Linked DNA regions of Homo sapiens: regions 2, 3, 4 and 5 are each linked to region 1. Evidence: promoter capture Hi-C in 16 types of primary human blood cells and fetal thymus (Javierre and others, 2016). All regions are on one chromosome and are shown on one strand. The core of a region is centred on a gene start or on the middle of the fragment in contact, and the rest is flanking DNA. Distances in the headings are between cores, read along the strand shown. Region 1 holds the start of ZNF266 (zinc finger protein 266). Region 2 overlaps ZNF317 (zinc finger protein 317). Region 3 has its middle 4.7 kb from the start of OR7G3. Region 4 has its middle 13 kb from the start of FBXL12. Region 5 holds the start of OR7D2 (olfactory receptor family 7 subfamily D member 2).

Region 1 (2,705 bases), core at 102-2,601:
TTTCTTAGCATTGCCTATTCCAAAGAAAAATAGAGAAAATAATTCTGTCCTCTACTTTACTTACAGACCTTCATCAATTTGTAATACACTTATTTGCTTGGTTACATGACAGCCTCCTCCACTAGTTTACAACCTCCCTAAGAACAGCCCTAGGCTGAATTTTTTTACTATGCCTTAATTAACCATTCAGACACTCATCCATTTACAGGATACACCAATAAATGAAGGATACATTTAAACACGGCACAGAATACAATCAGAACTACCAAAATGTATAACTTTCTGAAAGAACGAGTGACTGCGCAAAAAGACAATATAACGGATAAACAGTGTCTGCTAGTTTTAAAGAGACTAAAAGACATGAAACTTGGATACGTAATAGATCCCAAAACAATCAAAACCATATATTGGAACAAAGTGGAGAACTGTACCTTTTTACACAGGGTACATATTAACAACATTTTAAATTTTCTGGGGTAATAGTATTATGGTTTTAAAAGGACATGTCTTTATCCACAGGACACGTATTACCAAGCATTTAAACCTTAAGTGTCACGCCTGCAATGTTCAACTTACTTCAAAGCCTCCATTCCTTCTTCCTAAAAGCCCGTTTTGAAGCTCTGTGGGGAGGTACAGGCCTAGGAAGTTCAGATAAAAAGAATAGCTGAGTATTCTTGCTTTTCTTCAGTAGAAAGACTTCTGGTCTACAAACGTTTATATTCACATAGAGAAATAACCACACCCCAGATACCTAAAAAATAGCTTTATGTTTCTACCTGAATGTAGAGTGTCAAAAGTAAATACAGGATGCGCAAAGAGAAAAACAAATTCTCAGATAAAACAGGAGGAAGAAGCCCCCGAAACCAACTTTCACCCCAGTACTCACCGCGACGAGCTGGACTCGCCAGGTACGGGAGATTGGGGGGATGAAGGACCAGTCAACCTGATTCGAACGACGAAAACTCGTTGTTTCTGGAAAAAAAAAAGTCACAAAGAATTGCTTTGGAAGAGTTTGAAGCGGCAATCACCGTGTTTGCAAAAATCGTGAGGAAGCGCCCTTACGACAGATCCCGAAACGGCTCCTGGCCCAGGGCCGTCGCAGTGACAACTCGAGTGGCTTTTTGAACCTGGCGGCGCCAGGAGGACCCGCGCGGCCCCGGCGGACGCGAGCGGAGCAGGCAAGGTCTCTCTAAGGAGGCCCCTCGGCGGCCTGGGGCAAACCGGTACTTTCGCCACCCCTTCCACCGCTGGCTCCCACCCGTCATCCGACCTCGCCAAAGCTGTATTAAGCCCAAACGCCACCAGGAAGAAAACGGGTTTGGCGGCGCGGAGAAAGCGCCGGAAAACACAGCAGCGCTCCGTGACGTCACTTCCGCCTCCAGCCTCAAACCTGGAGGAGCGCTCGGGAACTGCAACCTCAGCCGAGCTGAACAACCTCAGGCAGAGAGATTCTGGTTTACTCCCCAGTGGCTACGGAGACGCCTTGGAGGCCTTGGAGTCTGCTCACCTTGAGGGATGGAGGCCAAAAGGGGCCCAGAGCACAAGGCTGAGGTTAGAACCAGCCCTGCGGACGGGGCTAACCTAGGGTGGGGTCGGTGGTGTTGGCAAAGTTAGAGGTGGGGGCTCCCCCACAGGATGTGCACAATGCTCACAAAAAGCTTTTATTCTCACCTCCTCCCACGTTCCTAGCACCCTCAAAATGATGCTTCCTTTGATAATCCTGCCAGTCCATGATATGGCCTATCTCCTCCATTCATTCAATCTAGTTTTAGTTTTTTATTTTGTTTTTGTTTGAGACAGGGTCTCACTGTGTAGTCCAGGCTGGCGTGCTGTGGGGCGAAACTCATGGGCTCACGCCATCATCCCGCCTCAGCCTCCCGAGTAGCTGGGTCTACAGGCGCAGGCCACCATGCCCGGCTAATTTTTTTTCCCCCAGAGTTGAGGTATGTTACCCAGGCTGATCTCAAACTCCTGGGCTCCAACAATCATCCCGCCTCAGCCTCCCAAAAGGCTGGGATTACAGGCGTGCACCACGGCGCCGGGCCCAATTCAACTTGAGGCCAATATTTCCCCTTATTTCATTTATCTGGACGCCATGCTAAATTCTAATAGTTGATTCCTTTGTGTATTCAATATGCTGATACTTTTTGTAAATGTTGATTTTTTTTTCTTTGACTAATATATTGTTTTCTGAGATCTTACAGTGAGTTCCAGGGCCTCGTTGTAAAATACCGCGTTGTAAAATAGCACTGATATCAGGCATTCACTTCTGCAGGAGTGATTCTAGTTTCTCCAGAAATCGTTTTTGCTGTGCTTTGTAGTGGGTGGCCTTTATGGAGTTAATAAAGTTATTTTGAACACTGTTTTACTAACATGAAGAACTGTTCATGTACATTATCAAATATTTTGTGAATCTACTGAACTGGTAACTATTTTGCAGTTAATTTTTCAACTCAAAAAGATTTTCTTTTTTAAGTTTCCTCTCTTGCATTAAGAAGTCTTCATAAACTCTAGATTACATATAGATTTCCTAATTTTCTTCTGCAGCATATTACTTTAAAAACATTGAAATCTTTCATACTCATGGAATGTGTTTCAGTATGTGGTGTGGGATAGTGGATACAATATCTCTTTCCTCCAGAAACACGGCCAATTATTGTAGTACCACATATTGATAAACTGTCCTTGATTTACTGATTTCAAAT
Region 2 (2,700 bases), core at 164-2,663, 290 kb before region 1:
TTATAAATTACCCAGTCTCAGGTATTTCTTTATAGCAGTGCGAGAATGGACTAATACACCATCACCCAGCACTGACAACCCCTGAAAGTGATAGAATCACTCAGGTGAGAACTTGGCCAGAAGCTCCACTCTGAGCTCTGGTTTGCATCGTTGCAAAACATCGACAAGGTTCCACAGACTGAATTGATGTGGGTGCGCTCTCTAAGCTCCAGCCCTCTGGACACTTTGTCCTTCATGGAGGGTGGTGGTGGATGTTGGCCCCAGGGTGTTGGGCTAAGCCATAGGGCTGTGTCCTAGTACCTGGATTACTGTTTAATTTCACAGGACCTTCTGAGGAGATCCCAGACCCCCTACATTCCATAGGCCCCTCCTTTATGGTCTCCCAAGGTCTGGGTGGCTGTCTCAGTATGAAGGCAAATGTAGATCAGCTTGCTCATCATCCATTCATTCTTTCATTCCCTACTTATTGTCTTATTTATATCAGGCACTGGAATGGTGAATGAAATATCATCAAAGTAAAAAGTCTCTACTCACCTGGAATGTATTTTCTAGTTGGGCATACAGGAAATCAAAACAAGTAAACTACATAGTGTGCATGGAGGAGACAGCAGAGAGATAATAATGCTTACCCGGTGTTCTGTGTCCTGTCCTACATTTCCCAGGATCCTTGGAGCTGGCAGGGGCATGTGACTAGTTCTGGCCAATGGGCTGCAAGTGCTTCAGGGTCAAAATATAGACGACAGAATGCATAGTTGTCCAGCTTCCTGCTCATCATCTATGACCAACATGGCCAAGGGTATCAGTTGGTTCAGAGACAAGTGGCATCCTTGAACAACAGGAAAACTTTTGACATCAGCCTGGGTTGAACAAGTGACATGAGCAAGGCGTAAACTTTCCATTTTATTGAGTCATTGAGATTTGGGTTTGTCTGTTTTTGCAGTAAAAAATAGAGCCTAATCTTACACAGAACATTACTTGGAAATTAGTGCTTTAGGGAAAAAGAAAAGGAGTGGAGAATTGGGATTGAAAGAAGCAGGGGTTTGCATTTTAAAAAGTGGCCAAGGCGGGTGGATCAGCTGAGGTCAGGAGCTCAGGACCAGCCTGGCCAACATGGTGAAACCCTGTCTCTACTAAAAGTACAAAAATTAGCCGGACACAGTGGCACACCTATAGTCCCAGCTACTTGGGAGCCTGAGGCGGGAGAATCACTTGAACCCGGGAGGCGCAGGTTGCAGTGAGCTGAGATCACACTACTGCACTCCAGCCTGGGTGACAGAGCGAGACTCCATCTCAAAAGAAAAGAAAAGAGTGGCCAGTGAATGCCAGATCAGGACAGGTAAAGTTGAATAAAGATCTGAAGGATGAGAGGGGGCCAGGCACACTGAGAATGTGGGGGAAACATTTCAAGCAGAGGAGCAGCAGGTGCACAGACCCTGAGGTGGGAGCATGGCTGGCGGGGCCTGATGCACAGCAGTGAGGCTTCTGTGGCTTGGGTGAGGGACCAGTGGCAGAGCGAGTTGTGGGTGAGGCGGCAGGGACCTGGGCCCTTGGTCTGAGTGAGATGGGACACCATCAGAGGATCTTGAACAGAGGAGCGGTGTGATCTTCATTTTACCCATAAAGTTACGGCTGTCATGGAAGCTAAGGGAAGTCAGGGACAGCAGCTGGGAGACCAGTTAGGAAGCAGTTGGAATGTTCTAGAAGAGAAGCGATGCCTTATGCCAAGGCAGTAGCAGTGTAGGTGGTGAGAAGCAACCAGATTTTTGTATTAAGTTTTAAAGTTAAGGCTGGCAGGATTTGCTGGTGATGCAGGTGTGGTTTATGGAAAAGAAAGAGGAGAGTTGAAGGTGATGACGAGCAAGGCTTTTGACTTGAGCCCCTGGGAGGCTGGAGCTGCCATCAACGTGGGGAGGCTGGTGGCAGCACAGTTGTAGGTGTTTAATGTGGGATCCTGTTGGCTGTTGCAGTAGGGATACTAAGTAGCCACCTGGCTGCCACTCACTCTGAGTCATTCTGGGTGGGGCAGGTGCCAGGGAGCGGAGAGTGGCACCCACTATAAATGAACAATTCTGTTAAGTAATTGTGAAATCGTCAGTGGTCATTTTATTTTAATGATAATGGCATTTTAGAGTGAATGTTTGTTTACTGAGCCTATAGAGTTCCATACATAACCCAGTGTTAAAGTCTTCAGTTTCCAGATGAGAAAACTGAGTTTTGATGAACTGACTCTTGGGAGGGGAATGAGCAGAACTGTGGGCTTGCATTAAAGGGGAGTCTACTGAGGCCTCAGGGACAGGGAGACCTTCACAGAAGTGCAATCAGAACCTGGGTGTCAGCACCTCCAAATGGTGGGGGTGTTTCACAATGTGGACCTGTGGGAGATGGGGGAGAGGGGCCCAGGGGAACCCTGACCTTTAGGGGCTGGGCAGAGGAGGGATCTCAAGCCAGAGTCTTCAAAAGAGCAACCAGAGATGTGAGCACAGACTGGGATGAGTGGGCTATGGCTGCAAGAGCAGTGGCATTCCCAGGAAGAGGGAGATAGATTCATAGTGAGCAAGATGATGTGTCAGGAGGTCAGGCAAAGGAAGGGTCAAGATGTAGTGTCAAGGAGTTCCCACATAGGGGACAGTACAGGTGACATAGGTCACTTTGAGAGGCAACAAGATGTGGCTCCGCAGTCACGTCAGCTGGGCTCACAAC
Region 3 (2,751 bases), core at 14-2,513, 300 kb before region 1:
CTTGACACAGTGGCTCAAGCCTGTAATCCCAGCACTTTGGAAGGCCGAGGTGGGAGGATCACTTGAGCCCAGGAGTTTGAGACCAGCCTGGGTTGTGTGTCTGTACTCTATCTAGCCTGGGTGACAGAGCAAGATGCTGTCTCAGAGAAAAGAAAAAGAAAAAAGAAAAAGCCAGGCGCAGTGGCTCGCGCCTGTAATCCTAGCATTTTGGGAGGTAGAGGCAGGCAGATCACTTCAGCCCAGGAGTTAGAGACCAGCCTGGGCAACATGGTGAAACCCCATCTCTACAAAAAATACAAAAACTAGTCAGGCATGGTGGCATGCACCTATAGTCCTAGCTACTCAGGAGGCTGAGGTAGGAGGATCACCTGAGCTCAGGAGGTCGAGGTTGTTGTGAGCCGTGATTGAGCCACTGTACTCCAGTCTGGGTGACAGAGTGAGATCCTGTCTCAAAATAAAGTAAGAAAGAAAGAAGCTAAACAAACATCAGTATGGGGATAGATACACAAATTATGGCACTATTATTACATGTAATAATAGTGTTAAACTAAGCATAGTGAATGCCCACCAATTTCAGAGAGTGGTGGTCCCCAGGAAGGGAAGGAGAGGAATAAAAACAAATCAAGAGGACTTCATGTTTAAGTGTTATACTTTATTGTTATTATTATTATATTTAGTATTTTAAATCTATTTTTAAAATTAAAAAAAATTTTTTTTTTTTGCAGAGATGAGCTCTTGCTATGTTGCCCAGGCTATGTTGCTATGTTGCCCATGCCTGTAAGCCCAAAGTGCTAGGATTACAGGCATGAACCACCACATCTGGCCTGTTTTGGGGTTTTAAAAGAGAAACCGAAAGACTGGAAATGTAAGTGAGTGGGTCTCAACTTCCTCTTCTGGAGTTTCTCACTGTCAAGAGATGGGGACAAGAGTCAAGTTATTTAAGGGTGAAATCTGGCAACAGACATGGTGAAGATTGAAAAGCCAGACACATCTCATCAAAGCCCCATCTGCAGTCAAAAGAATGAGGAAAACCATGGGGCCAGGCATGGTGGCTCATGTCTGTAATTCCAGCACTTTGGGAGGCCAAAGTGGGCGGATCACGAGGTCAAGAGATCAAGACCATCCTGGCCAACTTGGTGAAACCCCATCTCTACTAAAAATACAAAAGTTAGCCAGGCATGGTGGTGGGCGCCTGTAATCCCAGCTACTCAAAAGGCTGAGGCAGGAGAATCGCTGGAACCCAGGAGGCGGAGGTTGCAGTGAACTGAGATGGAGCCACTGCACTCCAGCCTGGTGACAGAGCGAGACTCCTTCTCAAAAAATAAAAAAAAGAATGTGGAAAACCAGAGAACTGTAGATTCCTTTTGTTTATTTGTTTGTTTTATGAGACAGAGTCTTGCTCTGTCACCAGGCTGGAATGCAGTGGTGCCATCTCAGCTCACTGCAACCTCTGCCTCCCGGGTTCAAGCGATTCTCCTGCCTCAGCCTCCTGAGTAGCTGGGATTACAGGTGCATGCCACCATGCCCGGCTAAATTTTTGTATTTTTAGTAGAGATGGGGTTTCACCATGTTGGCCAGGCTGGTCTTGAACTCCTGACCTCAGGTGATTGATCCGCCTTGGTTCCCAAAGTGCTGGGACTACATGCGTGAGCCACCGCACTTGGCCAGATTCCTTTTTGAAGGGACTAATTCATACTTAGGTAGGGAAGGAGTCCCTAGGATTTAGAAGACAGAATGAGAGCTGAAAATAATGAAATCTGATTATAAATTGTAAGAAAACAGGGGAAGTAAATATATCATGAAAAGGGTCACCGATTAGTTTGGAATCTCACTTATAACAATTCTGCTGAATTGTCTCTTACTTTATGGTTGTCCTCCAGATAAGATGGGAGAAAAAATAAAATAAAAAACTTGTTCAGTTTCTCACAGCATTTATTGGGAGCATTTCAGATTACCTTGAAGGCATCAGTAAGGAATTCTCCATTTTTTTTCTTGGAGAATTGTAAGATGAAATGGAAGATCTATCCCCAAGAAGGGCAGATGAACCAAGTAAGGCAACCCACTCTTGGGCAAGAGGGATCATCTCTGGAGCAAGACTCAGGTGTGATGTTTCCTAACATGAGCGGGGCTGTTGAGTGGAGTGGTCACCGGTAGATTATTTGCAGTCTCTGTGGCCCCTAGGAGCTCAATTTTCAAAGCTGCTCATTAGCTAGATGTGTACAGTACTGTCATTTCTTCCCCTAAGGCAGCTCAAATCCTTAATGAGCACAGGTCAGACGTGAGCACAAAGGGGGAATTCCTGGATGGTTGACTTTCTGACCCCAAGGGACAAGCTGTATGTCATTCTCTTCCAACCACATTTCCTCTTATCCCGAGGGTATCTCATTCTTGGATCCTAGGATCGGACCCCTAGGGAGCTGGTGGAATCCTCCTTAGACAGAATCCCAGCTTTCTCTGAGTCAGAAATTGCTTTTTTTTTTTTTTTTTTTTTTCAAACCAAGTCTCACTCTGCGCCCTGGCTGGAGTGCAGTGGCGTGATCTCAGCTCACTGCAACCTCCGCCTCCCAGGTTCAAGCGATTCTCCTGCCTCAGCCTCCTGAGTAGAGTAGCTAGGATTACAGGCACACACGACACCTGGCAAATTTTTATATTTTCAGTAGAGACGAGGTTTCACCATGTTGGCCATGCTGGTCTCAAACTCCTGACTTCAAGTGATCCACACACCTCGGCCTCCCAAAGTGCTGGAACTAT
Region 4 (2,700 bases), core at 179-2,678, 370 kb after region 1:
TTTTTTTTTTTTTTTTTTGAGATGGAGTTTCGCTCTTGTTGCCCAGGCTGGAGTGCAATGGTGTGAACTCGGCTCACCGCAACCTCCGCCTCCCAGGTGCAGGCGATTCTCCTGCCTCAGCCTCCCGAGTAGCTGGGATTACAGACATGTGCCACCACGTCCGGCTAATTTTGTATTTTTAGTAGAGACGGGGTTTCTCCATGTTGGTCAGGCTGGTCTCGAACTCCCGACCTCAGGTGATCCGCCTGCCTCTGCCTCCCAGTGTTGGGATTACAGGCGTGAGCCACCGCGCTCGGCCATATGTGCAATTTATTACATGTTAATTATACCTCAGTGAAGCTGTAGGGGCTGGGCATGGTGAGTAGTTCACACCTGTAATCCCAGCACTTTGGGAGGCTGTGGCAGGCAGATCGCTTGAGCCCAAAACTTTGAGACCAGCCTGGGCAATATGGTGAGACCCCATCTCTACAAAAAAAGAAAAATTAGCTGGGCATGGTGGCATGTGCCTATAGTCCCAGGTACTTGTGTGGCTGAGAGGGTAAGGAACACTACAGCCCTGGAGGTCAAGGCTGAGATGAGCCATGATGCGCTCTGGCCTGGGCAACAAAGCAAGACCCTGTCTCGAAAAAAAATTTTTTCTTTTTTTCCTAAAGAATGTGTAGGCCAAGTTAACCCTCCAGACAGGTAAGAATGTGATATGTGTCATAGCCTGTAATTTATACAATAACATCAAGGCTGCTTTGGTCCAAGGGCAGGATCTATGGCGAGTATATGTTCTTACACAAGAACAGTAAATAAAGTAGAAATCCTGGCTGGGTGCAGTGGCTCATGCCTGTAATCCCGGCACTTTGGGAGGCCAAGGTGGGCGGATGGCTTGAGCCCAAGAGTTCAAGACCAGCCTGGGCAACATGACGAAACCCTATGTCTTAAAACAAAAAACAAAAAAAAACAAAAAACCACCAGGCATGGTAGTGTGCACCTGTAGTCTCAATTACTTGGGAGGCTGAGGTGGGAGGATTGCTTCAACCCAGGTGAGGGAGGTTACAGTGAGTCGAGATTGGGCCAGTGCACTCCAGCCTGAGGGACAGAATAAGACTCTGTCTCAAAAAAAAAAAAAAAAAAGTAGGTGGGGCACAGTGGCTCATGCCTGTAATCCCAGCACTTTGGGAGGCCAAGGTGGGTGGATCACCTGAGGTCAGGAGTTTGAGACCAGCCTGACCAACATGGTGATACCCCATTTCTATTAAATACAAAAAATTAGCTGGGTATGGTGGTGGGCACCTGTAATCCCAGCTACTCAGAAGGCTGTGGCAGGAATCTCTTGAACCTTGGGGGCAGAGGTTGCAGTGAGCTAAGATTGCACCATTGCACTCCAACCTGGGCTACAAAAACAAAAACTCCGTCTCAAAAAAAAAAAAAAATCTAGAAATGTTGGAGTTGTTCTCAGGACTTGGGTTAAGCAGAAGTCAAGATGGCAGTTGGCATCCAAGATGGAGTCATGATTGCCTTCACAGCCCCTAATAGGGCCCAGTTACTGGGCCTCCCTTCAGATACTATTGCATGGCAGCATGGCAGCTTTATATCCTGGGCAAGATTGTGGAGTAAAATTACTCAGGTTCTACTTTACCAGCTATGTTGCTTTGGGCAACTTAACTTCTCTGTGCCTCAGTGTCTTCATCTCTACCTCCCTCAGTGGGCTGCTTATAGGAGTCCATGCATGAAGGACTGAGCACAGTGCCTGCCACATAAGAAGCACTCAGTAGGCTGGGTGTGGTGGCTCACGCCTGTAATCTCACCACTTCGGGAGGCTGAGGCAGGAGGATCGCTTGAGCCAAGCAGTTTGAGACCAACCTGGGCAACACAGTGAGACCACGTCTTTACAAAATAATAATAATAATAATTCTTTTTAAAAATTAGCCAGGTGTGGTGGTGCATGCCTGTATTCCCAGCTGCTGGGGAGGATGAGGTGGGAAGATTGCTTGAACCCAGGAGTTCGAGGCTGCAGTGAGCTACAGTCACACCACTGCACTCCAGCTTGGGTGATGGAGTAAGACCATGTCTCAAAATAAATAAATAAAAATAAAATAATAATGTCAGCTATTGTGATTATGCTTTGCCTTCATTGGAGGGCAGTCCTGAAGCCCCCAGCCCCTTATCTGGGAGAAGGCAATGATTAGGGGTGGGGAGGTTCCAAAAGGGGAGAAGCTCTGTCTGATGTCCCATCACCCCATCACCCCTTGGGGCAAGGCCCATGTTAGAGGTCACTAAGGCAGAATGAATTCTCCATAGGGTAAGCCCAGGAAGAAGACACCTGTAACCAGTGGTATGCCACAGCTCAGGAGAGCCAAATGCTGAATCTTCAACTATTTTGTGAGCCAGTTGTTAAACTGTTGGTAGCTTGAAACCAGCTGTGGTGAGACAGTGTTTACACCATAGTAATCTGCAAATGCTACAGATCAGGGCCTTCTTCCCCCACCTGCTAGCACTGCCTGTAAACACTTACCTGCTTCAAAATTAATGCCTGCTGGCCAGTTGCAGCGGCTCACACCTGTAATCCCAGCACTTTGGGACGCTAAAGCAGGCGGATCACTTAAGGCCAGGAGTTTGAGACCAGCCTGGCCAACATGGTGAAACCCCATCTCCTAAAAATATAAAAATTGGCTGGGTGTGGTGGCATGTGCCTGTAATCCCAGGTACTCA
Region 5 (2,700 bases), core at 58-2,557, 260 kb before region 1:
TCAGCTTGGGGAGATGAGAAGATTCTGAATATGGAGGATAGTGATGGCTGCTGTGAATATACTTAATGCCACTGAATAGTACACTTAAAATGGTTAAGATGGTGAACTGTATGTTATGTATATTTTACCATCATTTTAAAAATTGAAAAAAACTTTTTTCTTATTGTTCAGTTCCTCCCAAACTTGCCATCAATGAAATTTTCCCCATCACTCTACCCAGATCGCTGTTTCTAATGTTTTCCATGCCATTAAATGTGATGGATATTCTTCAGCCTTTATTTTGCTTAGCCTTATAGCATCGTTTTACATGGTTGTTAGAAATAAATCTTGGAGTCATAAAGAAAAATGAGCACTCAAACAAAGGATTTCTCAGCAAAGCAAATTTACTTCTGCGCAGAAGGGTGCTTCTCGTAGGGTTGGCTGCTACAAGAGCACCCTGAACAAAGGAGAGTAGCAACTTTTATTCTTAATGCGACTCTTGACTTTGTGTGTCCTTTCCCCATTGGCTGGGGTCGGACAGCACAATCTAAACTAGACTTGATTGGTTACACATTTAAACTGTCTTAGATAAGGTGGGTGTGTGATGGGAGACAGAGGAGAGGAGGAAGGGGTCTTCTACAGAGGAATAGACAGCTAGTCTATTCTTAAATAAGGAAAGAAATGTGAGCTGGGGCTATGGCATATCTGGGCATGCAGCAAAATCAGAAAGAAGAAAAGGAGAAGAAAGTGTGTGGGGGGGGTACTTGGAATTAGAGAATAAGAAGCTGAGCAGGCTGTTTGAAGAGAAATCTTGCTGTATCTCGCAATGGTTGACTCTCCCTCTCTTGAAACAGGACTTACGACATGTCCACAGCCTGTTTAACGCCCTGCAGCCAACGCGATCACAGGGGATTCACGGAAATAGTTGCATCTCTATTTTCTTCTGTGTTACCTTGAGACCCTTAGGCACTGGGATTACAGAGAGATGGGTCTTTGTAGCTTCTGCGACACATTCCAGAGGGGAAAACCTCTTTATCTCAAAGCCAAACCAATAGTGATGAAAGCTCTTCCAAGAATAAAGAGGCCCCAAGAGGGTGGGAGGTGCAGAGAGAGTCACCTGGCTTCAGAGCTGCCTTCTTGGAAACAGAATTAGAACACATCATACCTTTCTGCCATTTGCTCTTGATCCCAAGGGAGCCGAATGGGTTGGAGAGTAGAACATCACTGGAACAGTGGATTTAATGAGGAAGGATGAGACATCAGCTCCCTGGGGCTTGAGAAACCATAAATACTTCCCTAAAACACCTCACCTGGACAGTTTCCTGACGCCACACTCATGCATCTTAGAGAGGAGAGTTAGGATGACTTCATGACAAGTTCCATCTCCCCGCCTTTCCCTGCTAGATTCTGTCTTCAGCATTCAACAGTCAGGGGAGGAAGACGTCATACCAGCATTTTTTTTTTTCAAGCAATGTCAGTTGAGTGACTCACACTATCCTTGTTAGTACCGTGTGTGAAAAGGATTTAAAAAGTAGTGTGGGGAGGAACAGAGATGGAGGTAACAGGGTTGATAATGTCTCATGATTTTTAAAATGTCTCTAGGATTCCCTTACCTGGTTATAGATGTCTTAAGGCATTGCAACTTTTGGGAGGCTGAGGCAGGCGGATCGCTTGAGGCCAGGAGTCTAAGACAAGCCTGGCCAACTTGGTGAAACCCCATCTCATCTAAAAATACAAAAATTAGCTGGGCATGGTGGCGGATGCCTGTAATCCCAGCTACTCGGGAGCCTGAGTCAGGAGAATGGCTTGAACCCGGGAGACAGAGGTTGCCATGAGCCAAGATCACGCCACTGCACTCCAGCCTGGGTGACAGAGTGAGTGAGACGCTGTCTCAAAAAAAAAAAAAGATTCTATTGCAACTGTTTCTGTCACCTCCACCTCTGATGGCCTTTCATTCTGGAAACTAGTGACTTTCTCAATGTCAGTAGGAACTGGCACTTCCTTGAGTGGATTCCTTTCAGTCTACCTGCTAACACCTTCCTTTTTCTTCTCTAGTATAATATAATAGTTCTCGGCCGGGTGCAGTGGCTCATGCCTATAATCCCAGAACTTTAGGAGGCCGAGGCGGGTGGATCACAAGGTCAAGAGATCGAGACCATCCTGGCCAACATGGTGAAACCCTGTCTCTACTAAAAATACAAAATTAGCCGGGCATGGTGGTGTGTGCCTGTAGTCCCAGCCATTTGGGAGGCTGAGGCAGGGGAATTTCTTGAACCTGGGAGGCAGAGGTTGCAGTGAGCTGAGATTGCACCATTGCACTTCAGCCTGGGCAACAAGAACAAAACTCCGTCTAAAAAAAAAAAAATCAACAAAGCAAAGCAAAACAAAACAAGTATGTATTAAATGTTCACTCTGCACCAGATGTTACATATATTATCATTGCAATTGTGAATGGACTTTTTTTCCTCTTATTTTTTCTCATGGCTGTTTGCAGATACATAAGAAAGCTGATGACACTGATTAGTTGTAATTAATTGTGTTTAAGTTGACTTTTTTTTTTTTTGAGACAGGGTCTTTCTGGGCTCAAGCAAACCTCCTGCCTTGGCCTCCCAAGTAGCTAATTTTTTAAAAATCTATTTTTGTAGAGGCAAGTGTCTCATTTTGTTGTCTAGGCTGGTCTCAAACTCCTGGCCTCAAGAATTTCTCCTGCCTTAGCCTCTC

Evidence for each region. The method cuts DNA at HindIII sites, captures the fragments that hold promoters and counts their contacts. A CHiCAGO score of 5 or more calls a contact.
Region 2: a fragment that was not itself captured here is called in contact with the fragment with the promoter of ZNF266 in region 1 in 2 of 17 cell types (non-activated CD4 T cells and activated CD4 T cells); the score reaches 5.2 in non-activated CD4 T cells.
Region 3: a fragment that was not itself captured here is called in contact with the fragment with the promoter of ZNF266 in region 1 in 1 of 17 cell types (megakaryocytes); the score reaches 5.0 in megakaryocytes.
Region 4: a contact is called between a fragment that was not itself captured here and the fragment with the promoter of ZNF266 in region 1, in 1 of 17 cell types (fetal thymus). The highest score is 5.8, in fetal thymus.
Region 5: a contact is called between the fragment with the promoter of OR7D2 here and the fragment with the promoter of ZNF266 in region 1, in 4 of 17 cell types (naive CD8 T cells, neutrophils, activated CD4 T cells and 1 more). The highest score is 6.7, in naive CD8 T cells.

Annotation. Positions count from the first base shown.
Region 1 is chr19:9,434,222-9,436,926 of GRCh38, forward strand. It overlaps ZNF266 (zinc finger protein 266), which reads right to left and starts at 1,352. Exons shown (of 11, transcript NM_001370374.1): 1 at 1,063-1,352; 2 at 887-972; 3 at 577-638; 4 at 1-14. It overlaps LOC105372269 (a long non-coding RNA gene), which reads left to right and starts at 1,420. Exons shown (of 3, transcript XR_007067133.1): 1 at 1,420-1,551. RefSeq lists an enhancer at 1,143-1,272. The HindIII fragment of the contact is 21,418 bases long and covers 1-1,656 here.
Region 2 is chr19:9,148,180-9,150,879 of GRCh38, forward strand. The region is part of intron 1 of ZNF317 (zinc finger protein 317); the gene reads left to right. Among named protein-coding and RNA genes, the nearest start is that of ZNF317, 9.1 kb to the left of the region's middle. The HindIII fragment of the contact is 2,994 bases long and covers 1-2,700 here.
Region 3 is chr19:9,130,311-9,133,061 of GRCh38, forward strand. No RefSeq gene overlaps it. Among named protein-coding and RNA genes, the nearest start is that of OR7G3, 4.7 kb to the left of the region's middle. The HindIII fragment of the contact is 4,665 bases long and covers 1-2,751 here.
Region 4 is chr19:9,804,564-9,807,263 of GRCh38, forward strand. No RefSeq gene overlaps it. Among named protein-coding and RNA genes, the nearest start is that of FBXL12, 13 kb to the right of the region's middle. The HindIII fragment of the contact is 2,919 bases long and covers 1-2,700 here.
Region 5 is chr19:9,177,672-9,180,371 of GRCh38, forward strand. OR7D2 (olfactory receptor family 7 subfamily D member 2) reads left to right here and starts at 1,308. Exons shown (of 3, transcript NM_175883.4): 1 at 1,308-1,452. The HindIII fragment of the contact is 28,883 bases long and covers 1-2,700 here.